Regions from separate parts of the Homo sapiens genome. Here all the other regions are linked to region 1. The links are contacts of gene promoters, found by promoter capture Hi-C in human tissues and cell types (Jung and others, 2019). All regions are on one chromosome and are shown on one strand. The core of a region is centred on a gene start or on the middle of the fragment in contact, and the rest is flanking DNA. Distances in the headings are between cores, read along the strand shown. Region 1 holds the start of DMRT2 (doublesex and mab-3 related transcription factor 2). Region 2 overlaps LOC102723803 (a long non-coding RNA gene). Region 3 overlaps LOC102723803 (a long non-coding RNA gene). Region 4 overlaps LOC102723803 (a long non-coding RNA gene).

Region 1 (2,500 bases), core at 1-2,500:
GGGGCTTCGCTGGGGCCTGAGCCTGGCGGCCCTCACTCTGGGGAAACACAAAGAAATCCAAAGACCCACCGGCCGCCGTCAGGGACCATCCCTGAGCCTCCGGCCCAAAGCTCCTGGTCTGCCCGCCTCCGGCCGCTTGAGTCATCCTGTTCTCATTACATGTCCCTCACTTCCAGGCCACACGTGCCTTTCCTGTATCTCCAGGGCCCCCAGGGATCCACAACCCAACAAAGGTTTTATTTTATTAATTCTAAGTGCTCTGTGAGTACCTGACCTTTAACCGTGGCCCTCTCTGGCTTTACACGGGCTTTCCGGACAAGTCCCTGGGTAACTCACTTATCACACACACACAAAATATTGTGTCCAAATAGGCAGCCCCAGGCCACTTGTCGGATTTCCCCATACTCAACTAGTATGGCCATGATGCATATAAAACTATCCGTGGAAGAACAGTTTTCCTTTGATTACAAGTGGCCCTTCAGACTCACTGAAGTACCACTCTATGCTTCCCAAATGCCTCTCATCAGCCTACACCACCACAAGGACCCCTCCTTGGGCTTGAAGAGGTCCTCTCACCCCCCTCCCCAAAATACTCAACTGAAAACCAAAATTTTGTTGTCATTAGCGTCCCATAAGGGCAAAGAGCACAATACAGACGCCCGTCCAGCCTTAATAGTACCTGAGGTGCACAGGGCTGAGCCGCGTGGGCTCTCTGTACTTAGGCCTTGGTTTATATATTTAAGGTAAGGCATCCAAGTCACACAGAAAAGGTGAAAGATGATTCACGCCCTTTGCCCTCCCTGACACCCCGAGCGGCATCACAGCACTCACCAAAACTTTGAGGCCCGGGCTGGTAGCCCAGTTAAAAGATATCCAGCTTTAGGATCTGGCGCTAGGGCTGCTGGCTGTGCATGCAAACAGAAATCGGGGTCGCTACCCTCAAACACGAGATCGGGAGCTGATAGCTGGAGGCCCGGAACGAACCCACTGGATGGTGGAGGGGGAGGGAGAAGGTAGGTGGAGGGAAGGAGGGAGGAAGCCAGTCAAGTCCTCAGCGACCTAGCCCAGCACATCCCGAACTCTGCAAAGTTCTGCTCGGTCTTCTGCAGCCTCGGGCGCCTCACCTTGCTGAGGCCGCTTTCGGCTTCCTCTGACCCAGGCTGGGCGGGAAAGGTCGGGCCGCCCCCGCCTGGCTCAGATCGCTGGCTCACCCGGCGGGCGCGCGCAGTTGCATTCAGCGCAGCGCCACTGGCTTCAGTCTGCAGACTGCGCTCCCCTTCCTAGTACTGTCCGCTCAGGCCCCGGAGCTTTACGTCCTCTGATTGGCCGGTTGTCAGGCGGTGTGAATACTGATTGGCCGAGGCACGCTGGCAGGGAGCCCTCCGCCTCCCGCGGTCTACACTCTTCTCTCTGAAGCGCTCCGCCAGAGTCCGCCTACCGGGCCTTCGGTGCAGCCGGCTCGCCTGTCCAGAATCTAAACCCGAGGTATGACGGTGCCTGCAAGAGAGAAGTCACCATTTATCTCGCGGACTGGGAAACAAGCAGAGATACATTCTTAGGAATGCGTTGTCCACAAGAGAAGGTAATAAACGACGAGGAAGAGATCAGAAAGACCAGTATTGGCCTCTATCAGCATCACAAGCATTTCTGCGACTCAATCAATCATTAATCCAAACTGGGCGTAAAAATGATGCCTCTCTTTCGGGGCGTACAGCGACATCCTTCTTTCTCCTGCAAGAGTACATCAATGGTTACCTGGCACCGAAACTCCTAGTTAGCATACAAATAGCCTGTTGATATTTCTGTGTCTAGTGCCACCTATTCTCGAAGTGCCAAATAGCTCCTCATTAACCTTCACCGAGCCCGTGTGGCAGGTGGCCAAGTCGACTACAAGTCACTTACATTTTTCTGTTATATCAGTTGCTATTACAGTTAATGTAGGGAAGATCAGAAATGCATGCTATTAAGAGAATTAGGTAAATCCATTCACACTAAGCATGCATTTAAACAAAGTTATTTTTAAAAAGATGACTACTTTTTAGTGTGCGTAGTTGTATTTATAGACTTTCTAACGACTCCCTCAAAAAATCCTTTACAAAATGTTTAACGATAAAAAATTTTCAACATATTAAAAGAAGGAATTAGTCTTCTAATTCAACGCTGCATTCTATTTCTTGAACTCAATTAAAAATAATATGGGCGCTTTTCTAACTGCATCTGTAAATAATCAAGACCTCTCGAGTAGGATCTGTTTAGGAGACTACAAAATTGGGTATCATTGCACTGAGTACATAGTAGGCCCGCAACAAATATTTGTTGAAGGGTGGGAATTCCTGACGTAATCCCAACGTTACTTTTGTCCGAGTTTGTCAGAATGTTAAAAGTTAACCTGGATCAGAGAAGTGGGAACAAAGGCAGCTTAGGAACTACCGCGACCAGCCAGAAGCACTATTCTCAAACCTTCAGTGATGTTGTAAAGTTCCTCCCCGGTGACCAGGCA
Region 2 (6,546 bases), core at 2,768-5,267, 350 kb before region 1:
TGTGGAGAAATAGGAACACTTTTACACTGTTGGTGGGACTGTAAACTAGTTCAACCATTGTGGAAGTCAGTGTGGCGATTCCTCAGGGATCTAGAACTAGAAATACCATTTGACCCAGCCATCCCATTACTGGGTATATACCCAAAGGACTATAAATCATGCTGCTGTAAAGACACACGCACACGTATGTTTATTGGGGCACTATTCACAATAGCAAAGACTTGGAACCAACCCAAATGTCCAACAATGATAGACTGGATTAAGAAAATGTGGCACATATACACCATGGAATACTATGCAGCCATAAAAAATGATGAGTTCATGTCCTTTGTAGGGACATGGATGAAATTGGAAATCATCATTCTCAGTAAACTATTGCAAGAACAAAAAACCAAACACCGCATGTTCTCACTCATAGGTGGGAATTGAACAATGAGAACACATGGACACAGGAAGGGGAACATCACACTCTGGGGACTGTCGTGGGGTTGGGGGAGGGGGGAGGGATAGCATTAGGAGATATACCTAATGCTAAACAATGAGTTAATGGGTGCAGCACACCAGCATGGCACATGTATAGATATGTAACTAACCTGCACATTGTGCACATGTACCCTAAAACTTAAAGTATAATAATAATAAAATAAAATAAAATAAAAAGAAAGTTTTGAATTTAATAAGATCTAGTTTATTCTTCACAAAGGGAAAAAAATGCATTTGGAGAGTCTCAGCAACACATACAGAATGAAAATTTCTGAAAAATAATGAAATCAAATTAAGATTTTTCACATTTCTTGATTATAACACTTTAGTAATAACTATATCCATAGTAAGTGATGCATGTTGTTCTCACACTGCCCACCATTACTATAAAAATAAGATATTCTTGAATCTCAAGTTCTAAAAATAATATATGCTTTCTATTACTTGAGAAGTAATCTTATTTTCAACTGTAAGTCATTTTTGGAAAAGATTATTTTCAAAATTATCCCCAAATTTATTTGAGGTGTCTTATTACAACCCACAAATAGAAAGGGTGCTTGCAACAGCAATTGTTTCTTTTTTAAATAATCATTTTTGAAAACTTTAAAGGAAATAAAAATGAATTTTAAAAAGTATGTTTTACTTATTAACCATTTGGTGAAATGTAACAGTATGTCGAATTAAACGAAAAGTTTATAATATTTATTTTAAGGGTAAAAAAGTACCCACTCCAGGAGAAACAAGTTTAAAAATAAAATGGAATCAAAGAGGAAGTCCTATATCCCTTGAGGATGATGCCAAGGAATTGAAGAAGTTATGAGGAAAATACTTGTATTAATTTATACAGATGAAGTGCAAAAAATAAGGAAGAATAGTTCTCCTATATTCCATTCATGCCCCTTAGTAAACAGAACCACATAAACTCTTGTGTCCTTTCTGAGAAGTTCAGGACTTCAGTTTTTTACTCTACCCAACACTCTCCTCCCTGCCTGGCTGACTTGCCTTCATGGGACTACGTTTCTCTCTGGGTGGGGATAACACTTACTTGGGTGGCCTCACCTCTCTCCTAAGCCAGCAGCATTAAGGCTCAGGGGCACTGTCTTGAGCTTGTAGGTTCTGTGCAAAGTACAAACCAGGCAGGGCCTGGAGATCAAGGCACAGGCAAGATCTACTGGCTTCTTCGGCTCCCACTTTCCTCCTGAACAAGTTAGGTAGGACAAGCCAGGCCAGCCTCTTCCCTCAGCCTGTTTTCAGTGCTTGAGGGTTTGAAGGGAAGCATCACATCAATTTTCATTCCATCTTTGCTGTTACTAAAACTCATGCTTTGATAACCATCGTGAGGCTCCCAGGAGGCCTGTTAAAAGCATTTTGGGTGCATCAGTCTTCATTGTGCCAAACTGCTCTGAACAGAATGAGATGTCTCATTTCTCTGCCTCCTTCCATTGCATTTCAGGAATACCCCCAAACATGTGACCCCTAAAACACATTTCCACATATTTTCAAACCCTCTAGAAGAATGATAGAGCCCCTGTATCTAGGCCTCCTTTTGGTCCAAAATCAAAGCTGAGGACAGCTGAACCTTGACATCCCACACCAATAGTAAATTCTATATTTAACTTGTGATATTGGCGCCACCGCTGTTAATATAGCAGGATTGGTCAAGAAAATGTATCACTTTATCCCTGAGACATGCAAGGCACAATTCAAAAACTGCTCTTGCTCCACGAAACTCAAAGGAAAATATTGTCTCCACCTGGGAGCAGACTTAGCACTTCATAAACTCAAAAAAAAATGGCAAATAGAGTGTGCTTTTAAAATTAAACTGTTTCACACAGATGGTGGAAGGCTAATCCCAACCTACCTCACCCCCGTACTCCCTACATCCAAAACACACATGCAGAGAGAGTGGCTCCTACTATAGATGAGTTATTTGCATTCATATGGACAGTTTTGAGAGTGGAAGAAAGGAAGGATTTATATGAGGGAAATATATACTGAAGATTGACTTTTCAGGCAAATGCTTGTTAGTGTTGCACCGCTCCTTGGGGTATCCTGAGGTTGAGGATTTAATCAGGATTCTTGGAAAGCAGACTAAATTGTGACCACAGACAATAAATTATAGGCAATTAGGTCTACATTTGATCCATTTTCCAACACACTAAGCTTCACTTACAACCCGTCTTCAGATTCAGGTTTTTCTGCAAAGAGCAAACCTACCTTGCTTTTGAGAACATAGTTCATTGGAAATGAAATGTCTCTAGGTTGATATCCAGAAGCCCAGCCACAAACAAACCCAGATTATGTTTGCAGGCAGCAAGGTATTGGGTTACTGATTCCTTCCGGAGCATATCTGTTACAATCTAGTTGAAAGTCAGCTGGCCTGGCAGAGAAGCCCTCATTTGCAAAGGTGAAAAGAGAGGGTCATGCCAGTGGAGGAGGCTGCAGAACTAGCAGGTGTTTGTAGAAGCTACCAAACACGGGCTCTAGGCCTGGCTTCATCGAAATTACCTGGAGACACTGCTAGAAATACAACTTCCTGGGGTCCCACCTGCTAAGGCTGAATTGCATCCGTTCGAAATTCATACGTTGAAGTCCTAACACCCAGGATTCCAGAATATGACTGTATATGGAGACAAGGTCTTTAACGAGGTACTTAAGGTTAAATGAAGCTCTTGGGGTGGGCTCTAATCTGATTGGTGTCTTTAAAATGAAAGATTAGGACACAGACAAGCGCAGAAAGAAGACCATGTGGAGACAAAGAGGAGAAAATGGCCAGCTACAAGCCAAGAAGAGAGGCCTTCCGAGAAACCAACCCTGATGAATTTTTGGTCTCTGACAGCTTCCAGATTGGCAAGGGAATAAATGTCTGCTGTCTAAGCCACCTGCCAAAAAGTCTGTGGTACTTATTTATGCAGACCAAATACACTCCCCTAGGAACAGCAAATTAGATTCACTAGAGGTTGGAGGGAGGAGTGAGTTTAATACACCAGGGGTTAAGAACCAACAGCAAAGGCTTCTTCCCAAGAGGCTTAAATAACTGCTTTTGTCAACCAGAAGTCATGCAGGGACCCCTCATGTACAGAGTTGCTGAGGCTATAGAATTCACCTAGGCACAGGAGGGAGCTTTGCATGTTATTCTGTTTTAGCAATGGCCACATACTCAAGCCTTAGAGGAAATTATGCAGCCCTCCTATCCCTACTATTGAAATTATCCTGTTGGTTCACTAGCATCATGTTTCATGATTACTGCTCCCTGCCCCTAGATTTGCAACTTTGTATTTTATTTGCCTAGAAGAAAATTTGATGAGCACCGCCCCCTATCTGGGTGTGGATACAAGTATTTCTGTGGCCCAGACCCACTCCAATCACCACCATCTAAAAAATCTTTCACCCATTGAACTTCCTGGCCATGCGTCCATTTGTTAATTCAATAAATATTTACTGAGTACCTATAACAAGTTAGGCATATTCTGAATCCTCGAAACATAGCAGTTAAACTTTGCTGACTAAATTCCTGTTCGCGATGAGCTTAATTTCTTGTGGTGGAACCAGACAATAGGCAAATTTTAAAATACAAACATAATTCCAGGAAAATGTTGTATAAAAGAAGAGCAGGGTGATGAAACAGAGCAGTGGTTCTCAGAGTTTGATCCCTAAATTAGCAGTATCAGCATCATCGGGGAACATGTTAGGAAAGCAGATTCTCAGCCCTCACTGAAGACTTTCTGAATCAGATGCGCTGGGGGTGGGACCATCAGTCATACAGGTTGAAATTTGAGACCCACTGCTGTAATAGTGAATGATGAAGGGAGAGTTACTTTGGAATGGATGATTAGGAGTAGCCTCTAAGAAGATGACATCTGAGCCATGACCGAAATGGTCACTTGAACTAGAACATGCCCTGGTCTCAATGCCGCATAATGGTCACTTAAGGTCTCCTGAAGTCCTTGATCTTTATTTCATGCTTACCAAACACTCTCTGATTATAACTTCCCATCAGGGATGGCTTCCTGGCTTTGAGACCTGGGCAGCCACACAAGTCTCCATGCTCAGAACGGTCCCATGTGTGGTTTAATGCTCTGCTGTTGCCATCTTGAAATTCTTAGTAATTTTATCTTTGAATCTGTGTTTTGTAACTGAAATCCAATAGGACAATGGAGCAGGCACATGAACAAAGGAGATACAGGCAACGTGCATGCTCTTCCATTCACAAACAGCATTTGCAATGCCCCATGAGCCCAGAAGTCTGGTGGACTTCTAATTCATGGGCATTCAGCACAATCCAAAGGGAGTTTAATGTAAGCATGTTATGCCTACAACTGAATAAGCAGGGACACTGATAGCCCAGAGTGGCCATGCTCTCCATTCTAACTAGAACTTGCTTCAGATGCAGAAAGAATGCAATGATGTTCTAAGTAACAAGAACTACCAAGGAACCCTATTGTATATCTTCTTACCCATGTTATTTCTCTGTATTGCCCAACTACTTATGCTGAAAAATATGGCATAGACAGGAACATATAGGGAAACCCATAATTCCTTTTTCCTTTCAGTTCTTCCTTATTCCTCAGTAAGCCCAAAGTGAGGAGTGTTAGTACAAACTGGTGAATCAAGAAGTGAAAGAGAAACAATTGGGTTAGTTTTGTGCAGCCATTCCATTGTTCTTGTGAGAACAAAATACATATGCATGCGTGAGCTATGAAATACCCATTGTGTAATTTTCATGATTCCTATATGAGTTAAATGATCTTAAATTTGCCTATAAAACTAGCATTGTACAATATAAACAGTAAAATTCATGTTAATAATTTTTTATTGTTCTTCACTTAAAATGACATTAAACTGTAAATTTAAAATACCAAGTTGAGAGAAATACAAAGGAAGACAGGGAGAAGCCTTACCATTTAGTTCCTTTAATGAAATTTTTTTCCTGCTTTTTGAACAAGAAGACTCACATTTTCATTTTGCACTGGGCCTCATAAATTATGGAGCTGGCACTGCTTGCAATTAGAAAGCTGCCCACAGAGAGAGAAGGCACACTCCCCATGCTGGCACGAGCATTCCAAGACATGCAGCTGCTATATTTCTCTTTGTCACAAATGGGTCATCAGGTGGAGCATCCATCTTTAGGAAGGTGCCAGGTGGCACTGTTATCAGAAAGGTGCAGCTACATTCTTGTCAGTGAGGAAGCTGATAGCCTCCATAAATTAAAAAGGAAACTTTTGTCTTCAGCTCATACCCACATGCCACAATGGTAGCAGATTCTTTATGAACAGTCATGAGTGTAGCTTTCAAGATTGGGTACAATGTTGAGTCTTGAAAAACATGGTCTATCTTTTGTGAGACCACTGGGCCACTTCCCAACAAGCAAAAGATGGAAATAGGACTAGCTACACAGACAGTTCCCCGAAGAACAAGCACAGCACAAAAACATTAGTTTATTGACTTGTGCTAAAACATTGTACACACAGCCTGGTGAGACTTGAGTGGAGATTCAAATTGTTTAAAATTAAGAGGCTTTAGGGCCCTGTCTTACTTTTACATTCTACTAAAAACTCAAGTTACACTTACATGTAATGGACATGGGTTCCCCTTTCTCTAATCCACTTCCAAGTTACATTGCATACCTTTAACAACCAACCAATATGAAAAACAAGGGAAAGTCCTCTTGACTTCGCCTGCCCAGAGTTCAATACCAAACACTAAGAGGGACCTTCATTTACAGGCAGCTCCAAGACCTGGTGTGTGTCACCTCACACGGTCAGATACATTGCTCCAGCCACTTCGCTTCATAAGAAATCTGGGATCTCTCTCACATGTGGTGCCAGAGGAGGCACAAAGGCTGTTTTCATGGACTTCGGCAGGTTTACGAGGCTGAATGCGCCAAGATTTCGGGGTTATGGCACTATCCCACTCATTTCTTATTAGGATGTTCCTTCATCATTAGGAATTCCTTTCAGTCCCAAATGATTTCAGTCCTGTTATTGAGCCATTAGTTAACAGAAAGGGCTTAGAACCAAAATCCTTACCTCCCGGTCGAAGCCATTAGCTCTTGGAGATCGA
Region 3 (6,591 bases), core at 2,294-4,793, 300 kb before region 1:
TATTAACAGGGCCATGCTCTCTTTGGAGGCTTTAGGGGAGAATTCATTCTTTGCCTCTTCCAGCTCCTGGTCATTGTGGGCATTTCTTGGATTATCCCCTCCTCACTGTAATCAAGACCAGCATCTTCAGACCTTTCTTCATGTGGTCTTCCCCTCTGAGTGGGTCCAGTCTCTCTCTGCCTGTTTTATAAGCATACATGTGATTGCATTAAGGGCCCTTGTGGATAATCCAGGATAATCCCCCTAACTCAATATCCTTAATGTAATTACATCTGCAAAGACCCTTTTTTCCAAATAAAGCAGCATTTGCAGGGTCTCGGGATTAGGACTTGATAACATAGGGGACCGTTATTCAGCCTAAGAAAGGAGAACTGGGATCCTGTATTTAACTACAAGTGGAACAACTACCATATTCTATTTTAGTCTCCCCTCTCCCCTGATTTCTCAACTAAGTGCACAGGGTTCTGAGCACTTTGTCTGTCTACAGCTAAGCATTCATTCAATTTCAGACAGAGCCGAAAATGCACAGCCAGAGAAGGCCTCAAGGACTGACTTACACAACCCTCTCCTTGACAATTGAATAATTCGGGTCTCAGAAAATATTATGTACCCAGGGTCAGACATTGAGTATGAGATGAACATAGAACAGAGGACACCAGACTTGTAACAGAGCCACAAATACTATGTTACATTCTTTGTTAGCTGCCTGGTTAGCCATTTGGTTGGTAATCTGATTTTTGCCCTCTGATATATAACTTCTGCAGCAACATCTTCAGCCCGCATACTCTGTCCCCTAATCTTTAGAAATTATCATCTGATATTTGATATATATTTATTGGTTTGTTTATTGTCTGTTTTTCTCCACCAGAATATAGAGTCAATGACCACAAAATTTTACTTTACTCACTGTAGTGGCTATACTAGTGCCTGGCACATAACTGGCATTCAATACTTGTTAAATGAATGAATAAATGAATCTTCAGAACTGAACCTTTTCTCTGATTCCTTGCCTAAACTTACTATCTTTCATCTCTTTTTCAAAATAGTCATTCTAACAGATGTGAGGTGATATCTCATTCGGTTTTTTTGTTTGTATAAGGTTAAAAGGTACAAGTGCATTTTGTTACATGGATGTATTACGTAGTGGTGAAGTCTAGGCTTTCAGTGTAATCATTACACAAATAATGTACATTGCACCCATTAAGTTTTTATCTTCCTTCATCCACCTCCCCACATCCCACCCTCTCAGCTTCTGTGTCTCCAATGTCTATTATTTCACACTCTATGTTCATATATACTCATTATTTAGCTTCCACTTACAAATGAGAACACGTGGTATTTGACCTCCTGTTTCTGAGTTATTTCATTTAAGGTAATGGCCTCCAGGTTCATCCATGATGCTGCAAAAATATGATTTTATTCTTTTTAAGATATCTCATTGTTTTAATTTGCATTTTCTTTTTTATTTTTTTTGGTTTGTCTGTTGGTTTGTTTGTTTGTTTTTGAGATGGAGTCTTGCTCTATCACCCAGGCTGGAGTGCAGTGGTACAATCTCGGCTTACTGCAACCTCCACCTCCTGGGTTCAAGCGATTCTCCTTCCTCAGCCCTCCAAGTAGCGGGATTATTCAGGCACATGCCACCAGGCCCAGATAATTTTTGTATTTTTAGTAGAGACAGGGTTTCACCATGTTGGCCAGGCTGGCCCCAAACACCTGACCTCAAGTGATCTGCCCGCCTCAGCCTCACAAAGTGCTAGGATTACAGGCATGAGCCACCACACCCAGCCTTGCATTTTCTTCATGATATAACTTATCATCAGGGAAATGATATATATCTATCTACCTGTTGTCCATTTTCTAATAGTTTACATTAAAACTTCACTATCATGTTAATTTGGTAAATGTCTGATAATGTCTTCTGGAGTATTAAAAAGAATTATGTTTTTAGCTTATAACAAATATGGTTGCAATTTTGTAGACCTTTTGTATTTATTTTATAATACTTTATATTTTGTCGTATTTTTCTAAAGAAATTGCCAACAAAAAATATATACAGATTAATTATCAATTCATCTCATATGGCAAAAAAAACCTTTGCTATAAATAGGCAATACTCTAGAATGATTTTATTTATATAAATAGTATAATTCTTTTATGACTGAAGTTGTGATTTCCTCTAATTCTTCCCTGAACCACTGCTTCAGATATTTGCAATCTGATAAAAATTATTGCCTTTAGTTCTCCTGTTTGATCTTAGAGTGAAGGATTAATCCTAGTAAATACATTGTCATGTAAACTTTTCTGACATTAGGTTCCATTTAACTACTTTGGAGCAGAATCAAGCAGAATAATAACTATGAATTCAGTAGCTTTTGTTTATAAAGCAAAAGTGTCTGACAATCACCAAAAACAAAAATATGAACATACTGAGTGGGAAAACACATTGTTTTTTAAAAAGAGAACCTGCTTTTCCTTAGTTTTAAGATGCCCAGAAGAAAATGAATTCTTTACATGAAAACAACTGACAACCTCCCAGTAAAGTGGAGGAAGGACTAAAATGATAGATTAGAATTTCATGGGCTTAAGAGTCTAAAAATTGGTGAAATTTTAACCGAGATATTTATGTAGAAACTTCTAAGCTGATGAACCACAAGCCTTTATAACTATGATTCTTCCATCCTTAACTTGACTCATTTCTCATGCACTCTCCACTTCCACCTTTCTAGATGTCTTCCGGTACTCTCACTTTCCTCTAAACTTTCAAATTTGCTGTACCTTTCACTGGGACATTCTTCTCCCAAACAAACCCCCTTCCCCTCCAATTCTAACTCTTAGTCTCTCAACTGTAAAATGAGTATTATCGGAAATGAGCTAATAATGCACATTAGTGCTTACTCCAGTGTTTGGCACGTGGTGAACAATGAACAAATGTTCCTCATTATTTTTACCACTGGTGTCCTCAACAAGGCAGTTTCAGTTGGATAAATATGCTGGAATGACTATTTGGGGCATTTGGTAGGCCCACAGGGAGATGTTTGGGAGTATGTAATTCATTTGGGGAATAGAAATTTCTAAAACACTATGTGTAGGGTTGGTCTTCTACCTAATGGTTATTTAGTTGAGTTATTCCAAAGTGGAGCATAACGCAGAACAGAAAAGCATGAAATGAAAAGGATTTAACGGGGAAATTCCAGCTCTACCATATCCCCAGGGACTCCTCTCTTTACCACAGAAAGAAAATTCATTTATTCAACAGATGTCTGTTGAATACCTGTGCCAGGCCCTACGTAGAATCTAGACATGGAAACCACATTGAGCCAAACAGACTAAAATTTCTTCCCTGATAGAGCTTTTGTTCTAAAGGGGCTAGGCAGACAATAAAGAAAATAAATAAGGATTTGTTTGTAAGACTCTGGTAAGTCCTATGGAGGAAAATAAAGCAGGGTGACTAGTTTGAGCAGACCAGTAAGCGGGCAGGCAACAATTTTATTTTAAGTAGGGTATTTCACACCTAGCCTAGGTGTGAAAGGGATATTTGATCAAATACTTGAAGGAGAAAGAGAGCAAGACGTGTGTACATCTGAGTGCTCCAGGCAGAACAAGCAACCAGTGCAAAGGCCCTGAGGTGCTAGGGAGGTGCCTGATTGTTTAAAGGACAGGAGAGAGGACAGGATGGCTGCAGAAGAATGAATGACAGGGAGCATTTCAGGAGCCAGATCACCAAAGGTCTTGCAAGCTATGTAAGAACATTGGCTTTTACCCTCGGCGAGATGGGAAGACAATTCTGGGGTCTGAGTAGAGATGAAAGGAGATCTGACTTAGGTTTTTAAAAGATAAGAGAATTGTCTTGTCTTTTAAGACAAACATTTGTTACCTTTCATATTTATTTATAAATATAAGATCATGTTATGATGACATGAACTTATATTTAGAAAACCCTAAGGAATCTACCAAACAACTGCTAGAACTGAAAAACTCAGTAAAGTTGGAGGATACAAAATCATCATATACAAATCAATAGTGTTTCTATGCACTGACAACTATCCAAAAAAGAAATCAATAAAAAATTTAATTTATGATAGCTACCAGAAAAAAAAATACTTAAGAATATATTTAACCAAGGAGGTGAAAGACCTGTACATTGAAAATTATAAAACATTGATTACAGAAATTGAAGAAGACACAAATAAATGGAAAGATATCCCAAGTTCATGGATTGGTAGAATAAATATTGTTAAAACGTCCATACTACCGAAAGTAATCTGCAGATTCAATGCAACCCTACCAAAATTCCAATGACATTTTTAGCAGAAATAGAAAAAAATCCTAAAATTTGCATGGAACCACAAAAGACCCTAGATAGCCAAACAATCTTGAGCAAAAACAAGAAAACTGGAAGCATCACACTACCTGACTTCAAAATATACTACAAAGGTATAATAATCAGAACAGCAAGGCACTGGCAAAAATCAGATACACAGACCAGTGGAACAAGATAGAGATCCCAGAAATAAGTCCACACAATTACAGTCAATTGATTTTTGACAAAGGTGTCAAGAACACACAATAGGAAATGATAGTCTTTTCAATAAATGGTGTTGAGGAAACTGGATATCCACATACAGAAGAATACAATTATACCTTTAACTAATACCAGATAAAAAAATCAATTCAAAATGAACTACTGACTTAAAACCTGAAACTGTAAAGTAACTAGAGAAAAGGATACAGGAAAGCTCCATGATGTTGGTCTAGGCAATGATTATTTGGATATGATTCCAAAAGCACATGCAGTAAAAGCAAGAATAAAAAAAGAGATTATATCAAACTAAAAAGCTTCAGCACGCAAAGGAAACAATCAATTAACAGAGAAAGAGATAAACTATGAAGTGGGATAACACATTTGCAAACCACACATCTGATAAAGAGTCAATGTCCAAAATATATAAGGAACTCAAACATTCCAATAGCAAAAAAAAAAAGTCAATTATAAAACTGGTAAAGGAACTGAATTGGCATTTCCCAAAAGAAGACATAAAAAATTGCCACCAGCTATATGAAAAAACATATTTAAGATCACTAATCATCAAGAAAATGCAAACTAAAACTACAATGAGTTGTCATCTCACCCCAGTTAGAAAGCCTATTTTCGAAAGATAACAAGTGCTGGCAAGGATGTAGAGAAAAGAAAACCCTTGCACACTGTTGGTAGAAATGTAAATTAGCATAGCCACTATAAAAAACAGTATGGATTTTCACTAAAAAATTAAAAATAGAACCACCATATGATCCGGCAATCCCACTGCTGAGTATAAACCCAAAGGAAATAAATCAGTATGTCAAAGAGCTATCTGGACTCCCATGTTTATTTCAGCACTATTCACAATAGCCAAGACATGGAATTAACTTAAGTGTCCATTAAAGGATGAATAAAGAAAATGTGGCATATATACACAATGGAGTACTATTCAGCCATAAGAAAGAAGGAAATACTATCATTTGCAAAAACATGGATGAACCTGGAGGACATTATGTTAATTAAAATAAGCAAGGCACAAAAAGATGAATATTGCATGATCTCACGTGTGGAATCTGAAAACTGAACTCATCGATGCAGAGAGTAGACTGGTGGGCACCAGAGGCTGGGGTAGGAAAGGGGAAAAGATGTTGGTCAAAGGGTACAAAATTTCAGGTAGACAGGAGGAATAAGTCCAAGAGACCTATTGTACAATGTGGTGACTATAGTTAATAACACTGTATTATATTATGGAAAATTGCTAAGAAAGTAGATTTTAAGTGCTCTCATCACAAAAGATAAGTATGTGAGGTAATACGTATGTTAATTAGCTGATTTAGCCATTCCACAGTGTACACATACTTCAAAACATGTTATACAAGATAAATATAAACAATTTTTGCCAATTAAAAAAATAAAAAAAGTAAATACATTGGAAAGAGCGTGGTATGAAATGAGCCTAGTAAATCCAGCTATCCAGGAAACCCAGAAATTTATGAATGTGCAGCCAACCTGCTATGGACTGAATCGTGTCCCCCCAAGTTCATATGTTGAAGCCCTAACCCGAAAGTGAAGGTGTTTGCAGATGGGGCTTTTGGAAGGTGATTAGGGAGACATGAGGCCATGAGGGTGGAGCACTCATAATAGGATTAGGGCCCTTAGAAGAACAGGAAGAGAGACAGTTCTCTCTTCATTATGTAAGGACACAGCTAGAAGATGACTGTCTGCAAATCAGAAAGAGGAACCTTACCAAAACTCAGACATGGTAGCACCCTTATCTCAGATTTCCATCCTCCAGAACAGTGAGAAAAAAATACCTGCGTTTAACCTGCCCAGTCTATTATAATTTGTTATAGCAGCCAAAGATGACTAAGACACAACCTTTCCTTTTGCATGCCCTCCCCGGCCCAAGAGTGAAAAGACCAGTGGACAGAGACAGAATACTCCAAGCCCAGGAAAGCCCGGAGCTGCAGCTTTTCTGAGCACAGACGGAAAGAATGAGCTTGGCCTGTGCTGCCAGAGCAAGTGGCTCACCTTGCCATGTCTGTATCTCAACTCCTTTCAACCAGGGATTT
Region 4 (5,796 bases), core at 2,164-4,663, 380 kb before region 1:
TCGGTGAATAAGTTGAATTTCTACATTAATGAATGAGTGAATGAAGCATGCTTAGACCTTTGCTTCTGGGTACACAAATGTAACCTGGGATCTCATACATCCACTCACTGACCTCTGGTGCTAGATGGTTGCAGGCTGAATCTGAGCTTCAAACGCATGTTGCTTGATGGAGTACATTCTTTAAAAAGTAAATAAATAAACAAAACTGAATGCATCTAGGTAGGGCATGCGGTCTCCAATTTGCTGTCCTGATCACTCTTATTCTTTTACATCTACATGATCTAACTGCCCCTCAAAGGCATTAGAATTTAAGATGCCTTCTCTGTGGTTTTATATTAACACATGATGACCATGTCCTACATACATATGGTCTGAAGGATGCTTATTGATTTGCAGTGAAAAGTCCTACCCCAGGCCATGGAGGTACTCATAAAACACTTATTGGGAAAATTTTGGAATATCTGGTTCACCAGGTTGCCTTGTTGTCACTGTAAAAATACAACACTGACACTTCACTCGGCCTGCAGCATGTCGCTAATGCTTGCTGCTGTCCACAGGTGGCAGTGGTCCTTCACTGTTGCAAAGCCTAGAAACACCAGCGTTACCTCTAGGCCTCCGAATCCTGGGCCCTGGGAGATGGTATCTGTGTTCCAGGCAGTCTGTCCATGTTATCACTCCACCTCTTGTTCGGTGTTACCTGCATGCAGTATTTGGACAGGGAGGCAGCACAGCCCCTTGTATTCCCATACAATGTGTTTACATTGCTAAAATATAAAAAGCAGTTTGCAGCTGAAAAGATATTTTTCCCATGTGGTTTAAACCAAGCATCTTTTCCAGTCTTTTCATTCAAATAAGAGTACAGGAAGGGAGAGGAGATTTTGTTGTGCATTTTATTCCCCTGCTAGTCTAATCTTTCTTTTACTGTTATCCTAACATACTAGTATATCTGAAACTTGCGTTGTCAAGTTTCAGATATACTAGTATGTTAAGATAACAAATGATGAATTTCATTTTTAAGGACATTTAAATGTCTCATTTTAGGACATTTTTAAGAAAACATTACGTGTTTTCCTTCTTTACAGTCTTCAATATGTGTATAGACAAAATGGGAAGCTCAGTTTTAAAGGGGTTGTAATCAAGTATATTCTAGCTCTAGCCAATTTCACAGATAAGTCAGACTTGTAGATATAAACTCTGAAAACTAGGATTCTGGGCTTCATCTTTTCTGTATTTAAGAAAGACTAGGCTGGGGACACTGCTTAGGAGTTAGCCCTGCTCTGCAAGGAGTAGCCTAAATAAATAAACAAACAAACCTAGGTTGGATGTGTTCTTTTTGTAATTCAGCTACAAAAGTGCTCTGGCTATCTTAAGAATAGCCCCACAAGTGTAAATATTCCTTAATAACACATAACAAAGTTTTAAATGCTTTTCTGTTGGACCATGATACTGTCTGCGGCAAGGAATAAGTTACAGCAAATAATTTTCAATGGACTAACTTCCCCAGAGAAAAGTTAGTCCCACTGTATATATACCATTAGCAAAGACATTTGCTGATGATTGTTTAAATGAAATCTTTACCCAAAGAGGAAAAAAATACGGTTATAAAGGCAATACTTACGTATATAGGATCAGCAACTCATCCCTCTTCATGCTATGAACTTAAGGAACTCTCAAGAAAAGTATAGCCTTTTAAAAAGTATAGATTGTTGAACAAATGGAACCTGTCTTAAGCCACTTGAACTGAACATTTTTCTGCAGAACTGTTCACATTTTTTAATTGATATAGAATTGCTCACGTATTTCTTGATAGGTAAAACACATTAAAGACAAATGGCCCCATTTAGACTTTAAAATAAAGGAAAAGAAAAAGGTGATAAAAAAAAACATGAACTATCTTCTCTTTATCTATTGTGAGAGATTTATTTCCCCTTCCTTCTCACTCAAAAGTAAAACAACCAGCATGGGGCTTTTCTGGCTTTGGCTGGGTTGGCTCCTCTACTGCAGCTGTACACATCTGGTGTCTGAGTTTCCACTTAAACATGACTTCACAATATCATCGCACAAGCCGTGAGCTCTGTGTGTATGAGCCCCTATCTCTAGTGTCCTCCCTGATGGTGGTGTTTCTTCATTTGACTCCCACACTTAACCATCTCTACCCAAGGCAATAGAATACCAGTTTGTCAAACTTCCATAGCCTCTCAAAAAATCAGTTTATCCACAGCTTTTTTAAGAAGATGTTGGGCACAAGGAGTAATACAACATTGGGTAGGTTTTCTAACAGTGGAAACCACCACACTGTTATCAGACTTGAGTATCAGAATTTGGGGCAACACCTATAACTCTACACCGAGTGAAGAAATTAGGAAGGTATTGATTTCCTTGAACTTCTTGGGAATGGATCTTTCACCCAGCCCAATGTCAGAGTTGCCTGGGATTTTCATTCATTCAGAGCTCCCAACTGAGCCAACAAAAACTACTGGACCTAAAAACAACTTTCAGGACAAAACCAGCACATAAATCAAAAGTAGTATTAAAGTCTTCAGCAGGGAGAAACATCAGTATTTATTAAGTTCCTAATAAGCCAGACACTTTACACGCATTGTCTCAATGAATTCTTAGAACAACACTGTGATAATTTTATTAGTCCCACTTCACAAGAAAAACCACTGAGATTAGAAAAGTTAGACAACTCACTTGCCAAGTCAACCACCTTACCACCCGCAGTGTGTTAACCCAAGTCTATCTACTTGTGAGTCCCGTAGTCTTTTCACTACCTCATTTCCAATGTCCCCTTTGACTGTTTGATTATTTCAAGATAATTTTTAATAACACGTATATTGGAGATGGCAATTCCAGTACCTACGAAAGAATGAAACTATGAAATTTATTCCCTCCATTCTTACATAAAGGATCTTAGAGTATGAGGAACTTGATAACAACTATGGTTTGGGATGTCACAATTGCCTTTATAATAAATATTATTTTCCCAGAGTGCAAGGATAGGCATTCTTGACTTTGATGGAAAAGAGGTTTCTTTCCACATTATAATGATTGACTTCAGCACCAATGACACAAGTTAGATAGATTGAGTCCCTAGATGCTCAGATAATTAGAGATATTTAAAAGCCAGTCTATACTTGCCACCAGAGTATTTCTGAGATTATTTTATCTGGGATTATTATATAATAAACAAATATTTATATTTATAATAATAAATATGTTATTATATGTATATTTTGTCTATAGTAAACAAATAGGGTAAAGTAAGAATTTCCTCCAGAGAATTTTCAGAATGTACAGAGTTGCAGCATGGCCTGAAATTCTTTCAGCTTCCATGTCCCAACTGATCAATGTAGAATTACAAAGAGATTTGAAGGAGAGATATAGAATTACAAAGAGCATAAACTTTTCTGCTGAGAGCTCTGGACAACAGAGCTACCATGGAACATGCCTGCTGAGTATAAAGCAAGCCACCTGACTTTCAAAGAGAATTTCAGATTGACAGCTTTCAAGGGGATGGGCATATAAATTAGTCTCTTAGATAGAGCAATTAAACCAGAAATCTTAAGGCTGCTAGAACATTCTGTGTTTGGCTTGGGGTTAGGTATCAAAAGTGATGTCTTCCTTATTCTGTTTGAAAAGGGTTTCCCACTGCTAAAGACCTCCCCAGTCCTCCACTTCTCCCCTTTACTCAAGTAAGAATGAAGCTTGGGAAACATCAAAATATTAATTCAAACTCTCATGTACAGCTCTGTGCCTACTACAGAGGAAGTTACCCCAAGGATGCCTGCTTTCTGGGCCTTGAGATTTCTATCCATCAAAAATTGATTTTTCTGAATTTAAAAAAAGAGATGAATTTGACAAATGCTGTAAAAAGGTTTCAGATTGATGATTATATTACATTTTTAGGACCTGAAACTCGGTCTGTCAGAAAATAAGGCAGCATAATTATCAACCACAGAATCACTCTCCATATTCCTATATGGAATACACACAGGCTTGCAGACATCCTCTCTATTTTCCTTATTCTCAATTCAGTCTCACCTAGGGAAATTGGTGGAAGAAAAATAATTTATTTCCACTAAAAATATTTTCTTTGAGACTGCCTAGCTATTGTACAGATATATTTATTGCTGCAAAGACCATAAATGAAAACTAAAGGGAAGTTACACTCTGAGAGAACACTCATTTGTTTGTAGTACAAACTGATTTAATTAAATATTTTTGAAGAGCTCTGTTTCACAGAGATTGTGACCTAAGACTTTCTATGACCACAAACATATCAGGTGACCTGGTAAACTAAAAAGAGCTCTGTAGTCTGACAAGAGAGACCAAGATCATCGCACTTTTAGAATCACAATGCTATCAAATGATATCCCAGAAGTCACAGTACCTCCAGCCCTCAGTTTCCCTATCTATAAAGAGGCTGAAAAACTGGATGATCTCTGGGGGCCTTCAAGCTTTAATATTTTTGTTCTAATATGCTAGGGACATTTTAAAAATATGTATGACAAGAGAGGCAAATTTTAACACATTTTTTAAAACTAGAACTAATGTTTTTTGATAAATATCATACCTAAACTATAAGTAAAGCAAAGTGAAGATACAAGTGAGGGAAAATGAAGGCAGAATTATTTTCCACATTCTGAAAGCTTTCCTAAAAATCCACAACAACTGCAGAAGCAAGCCAACATCCCCTTGTTTCTGCCAGCAAATATCACAAGTGAGCTGCAGGTTTGATCACCTTGACCCTCTAACCCCAGCAATGCCAAATTGAGAAAGTCTCTGTGCAGAGGCCCACTTGGATCCTAAAATCACATTCATGCTTCTGGAGTCTTTTTCCAAAGCAGGGGATGGGGCACCCACCCAGCATAGAGGCTAGACAGCACAGCCCTGTCTCTGATTCCAGGAAGATTGCTATGAAAATGGAGATTTTAGGGACACATCCTTCCTCTTGCAACTCAGAGTTTGGTTATCCATAATCTTTTTGGATGTAGACCAGTGGAAACTCTGTGCTAAACAGTACCCACCTGTGACAGTGTTTCCAAATGTGACTCAACCAAGTTAAATGTCAACACTGGCAAGCAAAAGAAAGGAACAGGAGCTAGAAATAACTGAGGGAGGGGACTTCTGCCCCAAATGTTTCAACAACTTAGGGGAAAAAAGCTTTTTTGTTAATTATTAGATTAGATGTTGCCTGCCTGCTAACGAGTTTTAATGTCTCAGTATCTGGGTGTGGAGCCAAGATGGCCGAATAGGAACAGCTCCAGTCTACAGCTCCCAGTGTGAGCGACGCAGAAGATGAATGATTTCTGCATTTCCAACTGAGGTACCAGGTGCATCTCATTGGGGATTGTCGGACAGTGGGTGCAGTGCACCGAGCCTGAGCCAAAGCAGGGCGAGGCATCGCCTCACCCAGGAAGTGCAAGGGGTCAGGGAATTCCCTTTCCTAGGGGTGATGGACGGCACCTGGAAAATCGGGTCACTCCCACCCTAATACTGAGCTTTTCCGACGGTCTTAGCAAATGGCACACCAGGAGATTATATCCCACGCCTGGCTCAGAGGGTCCTATGCCCACGGAGTCTCGCTCATTGCTAGCACAGCAGTCTGAGATCGAACTGCAAGGTGGCAGCAAGGCTGGGGGAGGGGCACCTGCCATTGCTGAGGCTTGAGTAGGTAAACAAAGCAGCTGGGAAGCTTGAACTGGGTGGAGCCCACTGCAGCTCAAGGAGGCCTGCCTGCCTCTGTAGACTCCGCCTCTGGGGGCAGGGCATAGCCAAACAAAAGGCAGCAGA

What was found. The method cuts DNA at HindIII sites, captures the fragments that hold promoters and counts their contacts. A contact is called where the count stands out against the background at its distance.
Region 2: a fragment that was not itself captured here is called in contact with the fragment with the promoter of DMRT2 in region 1 in 2 of the 25 tissues and cell types used here (mesendoderm cells and stomach).
Region 3: a fragment that was not itself captured here is called in contact with the fragment with the promoter of DMRT2 in region 1 in 2 of the 25 tissues and cell types used here (mesendoderm cells and thymus).
Region 4: a contact is called between a fragment that was not itself captured here and the fragment with the promoter of DMRT2 in region 1, in 2 of the 25 tissues and cell types used here (mesenchymal stem cells and mesendoderm cells).

Annotation. Positions count from the first base shown.
Region 1 is chr9:1,049,107-1,051,606 of GRCh38, reverse strand. It overlaps DMRT2 (doublesex and mab-3 related transcription factor 2), which reads right to left and starts at 1,250. Exons shown (of 4, transcript NM_181872.6): 1 at 832-1,250; 2 at 1-37. RefSeq lists an enhancer at 609-1,478. The HindIII fragment of the contact is 14,990 bases long and covers 1-2,500 here.
Region 2 is chr9:1,401,425-1,407,970 of GRCh38, reverse strand. The region is part of intron 3 of LOC102723803 (a long non-coding RNA gene); the gene reads right to left. Among named protein-coding and RNA genes, the nearest start is that of DMRT2, 350 kb to the right of the region's middle. The HindIII fragment of the contact is 7,432 bases long and covers 302-6,546 here.
Region 3 is chr9:1,343,327-1,349,917 of GRCh38, reverse strand. The region is part of intron 3 of LOC102723803 (a long non-coding RNA gene); the gene reads right to left. Among named protein-coding and RNA genes, the nearest start is that of DMRT2, 300 kb to the right of the region's middle. The HindIII fragment of the contact is 5,830 bases long and covers 629-6,458 here.
Region 4 is chr9:1,424,305-1,430,100 of GRCh38, reverse strand. All of the region lies in intron 3 of LOC102723803 (a long non-coding RNA gene), which reads right to left. Among named protein-coding and RNA genes, the nearest start is that of DMRT2, 380 kb to the right of the region's middle. The HindIII fragment of the contact is 4,038 bases long and covers 1,395-5,432 here.